Linked DNA regions of Homo sapiens: regions 1 and 2 are each linked to region 3. Evidence: promoter capture Hi-C in 16 types of primary human blood cells and fetal thymus (Javierre and others, 2016). All regions are on one chromosome and are shown on one strand. Each heading gives the region's core, a stretch centred on a gene start or on the middle of the fragment in contact. The rest is flanking DNA. Distances are from core to core; before and after follow the strand shown.

Region 1 (2,700 bases), core at 93-2,592, 170 kb after region 3:
AGATATTAAAAATTTAAAAATAAATGTAATGCATCTACACATCCAGCCAGCCAATGTGGCATAATAACAGCATTATTTGCATCCCTACTTTTCCATCTATTCCTTGAGAGTGTCGGTGGAAGTGGTTCTGAGAGCCCCAGCTGGAGTGAGACAGAAGGCAAACATTACTCAAACCTCCATGTTTAGCTTTACAATGGTGTCACTCACTTGATCTCACTCTTTTAGCCCTTATGAACTGCCTATTTTCCATGGAAATTTCCAGGCATGGAAGGTAACATCTGACATAGATATGCCCAAACATTCAATGTGAAATAAATACACAGACTGCCTCTGATGTGTTCTGAACCATAATTCAGATTTCAAAAATCTTAATGAATGAAGCTTCTACTTTCCCCAAGACTGTCACTAAATCTTCTCATGGCTTAATTAAATACTAATAATTGTACTAAATCCAAAATGTTAATTATGTTTATCTCTGAGTGATGAAACTTGGAGTTATTTACTTCTTTTATTTTCTGTATTGCTTGCCACATAGACATGTATTATTATTGTAACCAAGAAACAATCACATTGCTATCTGAGGGTAGAAGAAAATGATCAAAAGCATCTGAGACAGGCATATTGGCTGGGGTCCACCCCTTTTCCTGGTACAAATGAGACTCTAAGTGTTGATTTATATTTATTTTTTATAAATCCTCTCTCCACCCCACCCCCAAATGGATTTTACTTTGTCTACATTTTTTAATACTCACTGTCAGGAAATACTCTGTTAACCTAAGATTTTGAGCTTTTCCCTATTATTCTGTCCTATGGAAAGAAGAACAGTTATTCATATAATATTAATGATCACTCTTAATATCATTAAAAAGCTCTGTGGATCTCTCCAGTAATTTCTAATACATCAAGGTAGCCAAAGATTGTTTTGCAGATAAATTTATTTTCCTGCCAGGGATTTTTAAAACCATAAAGCATTATCAAAATCATAAAGTATATGTTTCTAGCTCACTCTTTTGAATCTGTCTGTTTTCCCAGACTGGAATTCACAAACGCATTCTGGTTATAATGATAGCACGTGGTTTGGAGACAGGATCAGCCGGTCTGGAGACCATCTTCCCATGTCACCCAAGCCTCCCATGCAGGGACCCTGTCTTCCTCCACCCCAGAATGTCCATGGTTGTCCCTTTCCTTTGTCCCTGGTTCTAGAGTCCTTTTCTCACTAGTCCTTCAGGAATGTATCACATTTCCTTCTTAACTGTGGCCCTAGAGTGGTCCTTTGGCCCCACTGTCCTAGCTTGGATCTCTGTCTGTCTAGCCAGGCATCCCTTTGCTCTATTAGATTTTCCCTACCAAATCCCAGTCCGTGGGTTGCCATCAAGTAACCCTTACATGTCAGCACCGTGCCTGTGAAAGCCAAGCCCCTCACCTGGTGAAATCGTTATCAGAGTGGTCACGCCTGGCCACCTTATGCGCCCCCCTCACCCCTCAGGTTCTGCTGAGCCACTGGGCCACTGGAGGAGGGACTGCCTCACCTGAGACTCTCATCTCCGCAGCCACCTCCCACCAAATGCCCAGTTCTTCCTGCCTCTTCCTTCAACTTGGCTCCCATCTCAGCCCTTCTGGGGGAAGAGGGCTCAGATTCTTACAATCTCCATAGAAAGGAAATACAGTGTCAGGCCAGTTTGCCTGATGCCTTTTTAAAAATCAATAAAGGGGACAGAATGCAAAATATGTGCTAGGTTGTTTTTATGAAATGCAAGGCAAAAAATGCCCCATTAAACATTTCTTCTCTGCAGCCCTTGCTCTCAAGGGCACATGCTTGACCCTTGGGTTCTTAAGACTTTCACCAAGGCCACTTTGTGCTTTGCCTGCTCTGCCTGAGTCTCTGGCCCTCAGAGCTAGAGGGTGGGGCTGGCCTTCCAGTCTGTATCTGTCCCCTGGGGGAGTACCTTTCCAGGCTGAATTTAAGAATGCAGCAATTGACTTAGAATGCAGACTCATTGAGTGAATGCGAGCCCTGGAGGAAAGAAAAATCACTGTCACTTCTGTGGCCCCCAGGTTTGACACTTTCAGGGCAACCCCAGAGTCTGAATTGCTTGGAACATCCACTCACGCATGCAAGTGAAAGTCATCAGGGAAGAGGCTTTTAATAGCGCAGCGTCTGTGTGTCTCTTGTGAACCCAGGGTGCCCTCAAGTGTTGGCTAGGGTTAATCACAAGCCGCTGTTTCTGAGAACACCCTAGAATGAAGCAACCCTTAAACGTTTTAGCTTTGTGACTTGTGTCCATCACTCTTAATTTTCTGCAGAAGCTTTTTCCTGCCTTTGTTACTTCTGTAAATTCAGTCTATCAGAGGGCTTATGTGGTACTTTTAAAAACTCACTTTGATTTGCCTTTGTGCAAATTGAGCTCTGAAAGAGAGCAGTTTCCAGGGAAATTCATCTCCCAGCAAGAATCCTGCCTGCTACCAAATCATCTTTTAATCTGCCCCCCGCTTTAAAATGTCATTATATTTTCCTTATACAGACCTTCATAAAACTTACAAACACTGTCTAGTTTACATCTTCATTTTGCTCTCACAAGGCCAAAAAACTTGTTAAACAGACTTAATGAACGAGTTCCTCTTGATCGGGGTTGTAAGTTTCTAAAATTGCATTTGAACTTCTACCTGCCTCTAGCTGAATGAAAATTGCCTCCAGACATC
Region 2 (2,700 bases), core at 45-2,544, 150 kb after region 3:
CACTTGATCATGGTGGATAAGCTTTTTGATGTGCTGTTGCATTCGTTTTGCCAGTATTTTATTGAGGATTTTTGCATCAATGTTCATCAAGGATATTGGTCTAAAATTCTCTTTTTTGGTTGTGTCTCTGAGCTCATGGCTGATTTTATTTCTTCTAGTCTTGGGAAGTTTTTTATTGAAATATTTTTTATGTCATAACAATGAAATTGCATTAATTCACAACATGGAGGGACAAGCTCTTTTAGGGAGACTTCTATGTATATAATTATTTTAAACAAATGTTATTTGCTTAATATGTCATGGATTTTTATAAGCCATAATGTATTTGAGCATATCAGTTTATAGTATATGATATGGTGTGTTATTCAATAAATATTTAAATGTGAAGGAACTAGTAATTCAGAAACACCTATGACATGTTCCTAGAACTGCCTCACACAGCAATTTAATATTTTCTCTTTTTGCTGCAACAAATTAAGTGTATCAGTTCACACTGAGCAATAGGGTCACTATTATATCAGTCTGTGCATGTTTCTGAAAAAAATTATCACTCAAATTCTAAAGCACGATTTATAAATAACATGTCCATTTTATCAAACTCAGTGTAACATATTCCAGGTGTTCTTTCAATGATCTTATACAAAAGATCTGGCAAGTTTTCTTAGAGGAAAGTTTTCCGGAGTTTTTACTCAGTAAGAATCAAATGCTTTATGTCTTTGGTACTGTGATTCCAGAATTGGAGGAATCCAAAGGGATGAAGTTTTATTCTGATATATTATTCCACTTCATCATAACAACCTGATTTCAGCCTTCTGTTTCTCCTGGTTGCCCACAGAATCACTGCCACCGTCCTTAAAAACAAGCATTCTGGCCCTTTGCAAGAGCATTATAAATCATGGTTTCATTTTAGGGAAAAGGTTATTGATTTGCTCATTTTCCCCTGCCTCCCTCTGGTGCAGACTTCAGTGAAAAACTGAAGCTTCCTTTATGAAGTATATCATAGCCAATCAAAAGTGTGGCCTGTGCTTACTTGATTTATAATGAAAGGTGACACGAGTGAGGGATTTCACACTGCTCATCCTACAGTGACTGTAATCAAGAGATAAAAGCTAGAGCAACTACAAATGCTGGCCAGACTTCATCAGAATTATTTACTGCGTTTGCTAAGACAGGGACATTCGATCAGTTTAGATGGAAGAACTAACACAGTTAAAGGCGATGCATTTGTGTTTCATTTTGCTTTTAAAGCCAGCTAACATTCCACTTTTCCTATCGTAATTAACTTGGCCTTTTAAGATTGTACCCAATTGTGATTTGCTTTAAGTGATTTTTTTTTTCACAAAAGGATCAGAAAAAAGACAAAGGGAGAATTATCCATGGAGAAAAGGGCAAAAAAAAAAAAAAAAGGAAGTAAAGTAGTGATGAGACATTTAACGATATTTTTGAAAGGCCTAAAGTCAAGGAATAAGTGAATATCATTAGTAAAATGCAGAAATGCCATGAAATGTCTTGGCAGCAAGGTAAATGAGGCCCCGTTAGATTTTCTTTCTGGTTATGTTATGGATTTTTCTAAGGCATGATATACATTGGTTGGTAAAGGGAAAGCCAGCAAAGCTTTCTTTATCAGTGGTGAAAGAAAACATGTCTGAAGCTGGGACATTTGCAGTATGATTTTAAGTATATTTATAGAGAGATTGAAATTACAAATAAAAATAATAAAAATCATATCAATGTAAACATTTACATAGGAAGAGTACTGCAGTGTGATTAAATGTTTGTAGTGTGGCCGAAACTCAGAACACAGAATGCTGTCACTGAGGTGTATTGTGAATGCTTATATGGAAAATCCCAGGCTATCGATTTCACATGGCCTTTGCTTAGTGCAATAAAAAAAGGGATTAAGATTTTTTTTCAAGCATAATAAAACATCTGTGGACTCATTTTCAGATCTAGAGAAAAACATCATTATTTTAAGAATCCATATTTTTTTTCCTTTCCATTTAGCTCACACTTACTTAGTACATTTCATTAATTGCGTCTCCTACAGCTGAGCATGACTCTTTTTGCATCTAAATTGATTAAAATAGAGAACAGTTGGTGATATGAGTTGTCTTCCCCCCACCGGTTCTATATGAAATTGAATAATTTATGTATTGTAGAAGACAGAGTGATCTTAATATAGAAATTGTATTTGCAGAGCTCAGTGGAGGTTCCCATGTTTTCTTACAAAGAAACTGATCTTTTGCCTTAGCTGAGCCATTTCTTCTCTAAGATAAAATGAGGTAACTTTTTTGTTGGCACATGCTCCACACACCATGTCAGCAGCATACCCAAAGACTTCTAAGACAACTCTTTAGTTATCAAACAAAACTGGCTCTGTGGCACAATGGATAGCACGTAAAAGTTAGTTCATAGCTTCAGAATACATTTTACCTTTTATAGTCAATATTGAAAATCAAAGTAACATGTCCATAGTCCTAAAAATCAAATACACTAGGCCTGGGCATGGTGGCTCACACCTGTAATCCCAGCACTCTGGGAGGAAGGCAGGTGGATCACTTCAGGAGTTGAAGGCCAGCCTGGTCAGCATGGTGAAACCCCGTCTCTACTAAAAATACAGAATTATCCAGGCATGGTGGCAGGTGCCTATAATCCCAGCTACTCGGGAAGCTTAGGTGGGAGCATCACTTGAACCCAGGG
Region 3 (2,700 bases), core at 88-2,587:
GTGTGTTTGAGTTCCAATCACTGCAGCCCGTATTGGCGCGGCGCTTTGTCTCGCTTTGGGTCACCACCACAGGAGCAACGATTTCGGGGACGGCACACGCCTGTGTGACCGCTTCCCACTCCACTTGGGTTCCGTGAGCGCGCGGAGCCGGAGGAGTCAGGGACGTGAGGATGCCCTACTTCCCGCAGCATCCGGATGGCAGGGTCTGCGTCGGAAGGCCCGGGAGGGCGACGCCCTCCACTGCTGCCGCGGGGTGGGTGCGCCAGGCCTGGGTGTGGCCTCACGGGAGCGAGTTTCTCTCCAGCCGCCTGGCCCACCGCTTTGGAACAGTGAAGCTCGAGTTGGGGTCTCCTGCACGCCAAGGGGAGAAATGTTTGTTTCTGACAACACAAGCAAAATTCTCTCTCCTGCACGCCAAGGGGAGAAATGTTTGTTTCTAACAACACAAGCAAAATTCTCTCTCTCTCTCCCTCTCTCTCTCTCTTCTCTCCTCTCTCTTTCTCCCTCCTCCTCCTTTCTTTCTTTCTCTTTTTCTTTCTTTCTTTCTTTCTTCCTCCTCCTCCTCTCTCTCTCTCTATCTCTCTCTCCACCCCCCCCCCCTCATATTTGGTTGTTTCCCCTCTAAGGGGCCACTTTCAATATCTGCCTGTGAGCCCAGCTGTCTGGCCCTATGTAGCATTGGGGAGACAGTAGACTTAACCCAGCGAAGTTTTCTTCTGTTTGCTCTTGCTGTGCCCAAGTTTCCTCTGGACTTGTCTTCCAGCGTCGGGGTGGGGGCTGGGGGAAGTAGGCAACCTAGCTCTGCCTGGTTGCTCCCTGGAAGCCAAGTCGAAGTGAACAAGTCAGTCCCAGGCCCGGAAATAGAATACAAACCCTCTTTTTGTCCGGTGCTAACAGAGTCCAGCAGTCAGAACTCCCTCGCGTCTCACGCTGGACCTGACCCGGGGCGCCGCCAAGTGCGCAACGCACAGTCACAGTTGGTGACTAATTAAGGACTGCCGCCCCTCTCCTTCACCTGCTACAAACTCAGAGCCCTGACTTCTCCAGAAGTACCTACCACTTGGAGGTGGCTCTCCTTCCCCGCCCCCTGCCCCAGTCCCACACCGCAGCAGCGCCTCAGCACCGCGACTTGCCGGAGCACCGCGAGTGGCGCGCGGGTCCCGCCTCCCCCGCGCGCCGTGACTCCCTGCGCACCGCTGGTACTCTCGCCACGCCGCCGCCCGGCACTGCAGCACCAGGGGGAGGAGGCAGGCGGAGGAGAGGAGGAGGACCGCAGCGTGCAAGCCGGGAGCCACTTTCCCGCCCCTCCTCTCGCCGCTGACACGCTCAGAGGAGTCACCACTCCGCGCGCTGCAGGCGAGAGTGGCAGACGGAGGCAGCCCGGGGAAGCGAGCCGGAGCGGCGCCCGCACTGAGGCGGCTGCAGTGCTGACACCACTCAGGGCAAGGGTGTCCGACGGCTGGAGCGGTGAGTGGGGGAGGTGAAGCGGGCATCCGCGGGGAGACTTTCCCCCGCTGCTGGATTTCTCTTCCCGACTGGTGGCCGGGCGCTGCAGCCTGGGGAAGTTTTTGCAGCCTTTCGGAAGCGCAACTTTGCCCCGCCTGCCCCCGGGGAAGCGGCTGCAGGTGCCCGCTGCTTTGTAGGCGCCTTTGTTGGAGAGGGACCAGGAAAGTAGGGGTAAAATAGATGCAGTGACCCCAGGGTTCGCTAGGGTAGGTCTGGGGACTGGGTCGCACTTTATCTGGGATTCCCAGAGGAGGTGGGTGGGCAGCAGCGGGGATGCAGGGGCCGCATCTGCAGCGACCGCCACGCTCTTTTTTGCTTGTGTGGTTTGACCGGCAGGGATAGGCAGATTCAAATCTAGCAGCCTAGAGCCCCGGGCTGGGTACCTGGACCTATACCTTCATAGCTGCCTTAGGCTCAACTTTTCGGCGGGGATCCCTCTGCAGACGTGCAGGTGGCGGGAGAGCAGAGGTAGCCGCAGTAAGTGCTGAGAGAGCCTGAAAGAAACACCATGAATTTTCAAACTCTCCCACATACATTCCCGAAGCGCCTGTCTGGCGTCTAAGAGAGAGCAAGAGAGGGCTGGAGAGCAGGGGAGCCCGCGGGGCTGAGGCTCTTTGTCAGCGCCTGCACTTCCTACGTTACAACGCCTTCATTCAGCAAAAACCTTTTGGGCGCCTGCTGTGCGCCAGGCCAGGCGAAGCAGACCCGAGGCTGTGAAGCTCAGAGGGGAGAGGGACCAATCGCAGTAAATAAGCTACCGAGGTAATCTTAGATGGCGATGAGGGCAGCAAAAGCCATCAGCCGACCCTCTGACCCTTTCTCTTAGTGGGCTTTTCCCCTTCCGCCTGGGTTCTAGAACTGGGAAGACTTTTCTCCAGAGCGTCGCGGGGAGCGCCCCGGGCTGGGCCCACGGGGACTGCGGAATACGGGGATGAACTTGGCTTGGGGCAGCCAGCACCCCACGGCAGATGAACAATCGGGAGCAGATCTGTGGGCGTGCGGGGACCTTAGGCGGCGCGCGGGGGCGGGGGGAGGGGCTGAGCCACGGGGGCTAGAGGTGCCGCCTGGACGGCCTGAGCTGGGGGCGCTCGCGTCACCTTCTACGTGTGCGAGTGATGCAAATGCAGACCCGCGAGGGGCGGGCGGGGGTGGCGGGCGGGGGCAGGCGACGGAGTCTCCGTCTGGGAGCGCGCG

Evidence for each region. Contacts are between HindIII fragments. The CHiCAGO score rates a contact against its expected background, and 5 or more counts as called.
Region 1: a fragment that was not itself captured here is called in contact with the fragment with the promoter of SV2C in region 3 in 7 of 17 cell types (M0 macrophages, M2 macrophages, M1 macrophages and 4 more); the score reaches 20.1 in M0 macrophages.
Region 2: a fragment that was not itself captured here is called in contact with the fragment with the promoter of SV2C in region 3 in 2 of 17 cell types (M1 macrophages and M0 macrophages); the score reaches 5.3 in M1 macrophages.

Annotation. Positions count from the first base shown.
Region 1 is chr5:76,254,272-76,256,971 of GRCh38, forward strand. All of the region lies in intron 4 of SV2C (synaptic vesicle glycoprotein 2C), which reads left to right. Among named protein-coding and RNA genes, the nearest start is that of SV2C-AS2, 56 kb to the right of the region's middle. The HindIII fragment of the contact is 1,926 bases long and covers 380-2,305 here.
Region 2 is chr5:76,233,791-76,236,490 of GRCh38, forward strand. All of the region lies in intron 4 of SV2C (synaptic vesicle glycoprotein 2C), which reads left to right. Among named protein-coding and RNA genes, the nearest start is that of SV2C-AS2, 76 kb to the right of the region's middle. The HindIII fragment of the contact is 635 bases long and covers 978-1,612 here.
Region 3 is chr5:76,082,046-76,084,745 of GRCh38, forward strand. SV2C (synaptic vesicle glycoprotein 2C) reads left to right here and starts at 1,338. Exons shown (of 13, transcript NM_014979.4): 1 at 1,338-1,467. SV2C-AS1 (SV2C antisense RNA 1) reads right to left here and starts at 1,372. Exons shown (of 2, transcript NR_183290.1): 1 at 874-1,372; 2 at 1-351. RefSeq lists an enhancer at 149-702. The HindIII fragment of the contact is 14,928 bases long and covers 1-2,700 here.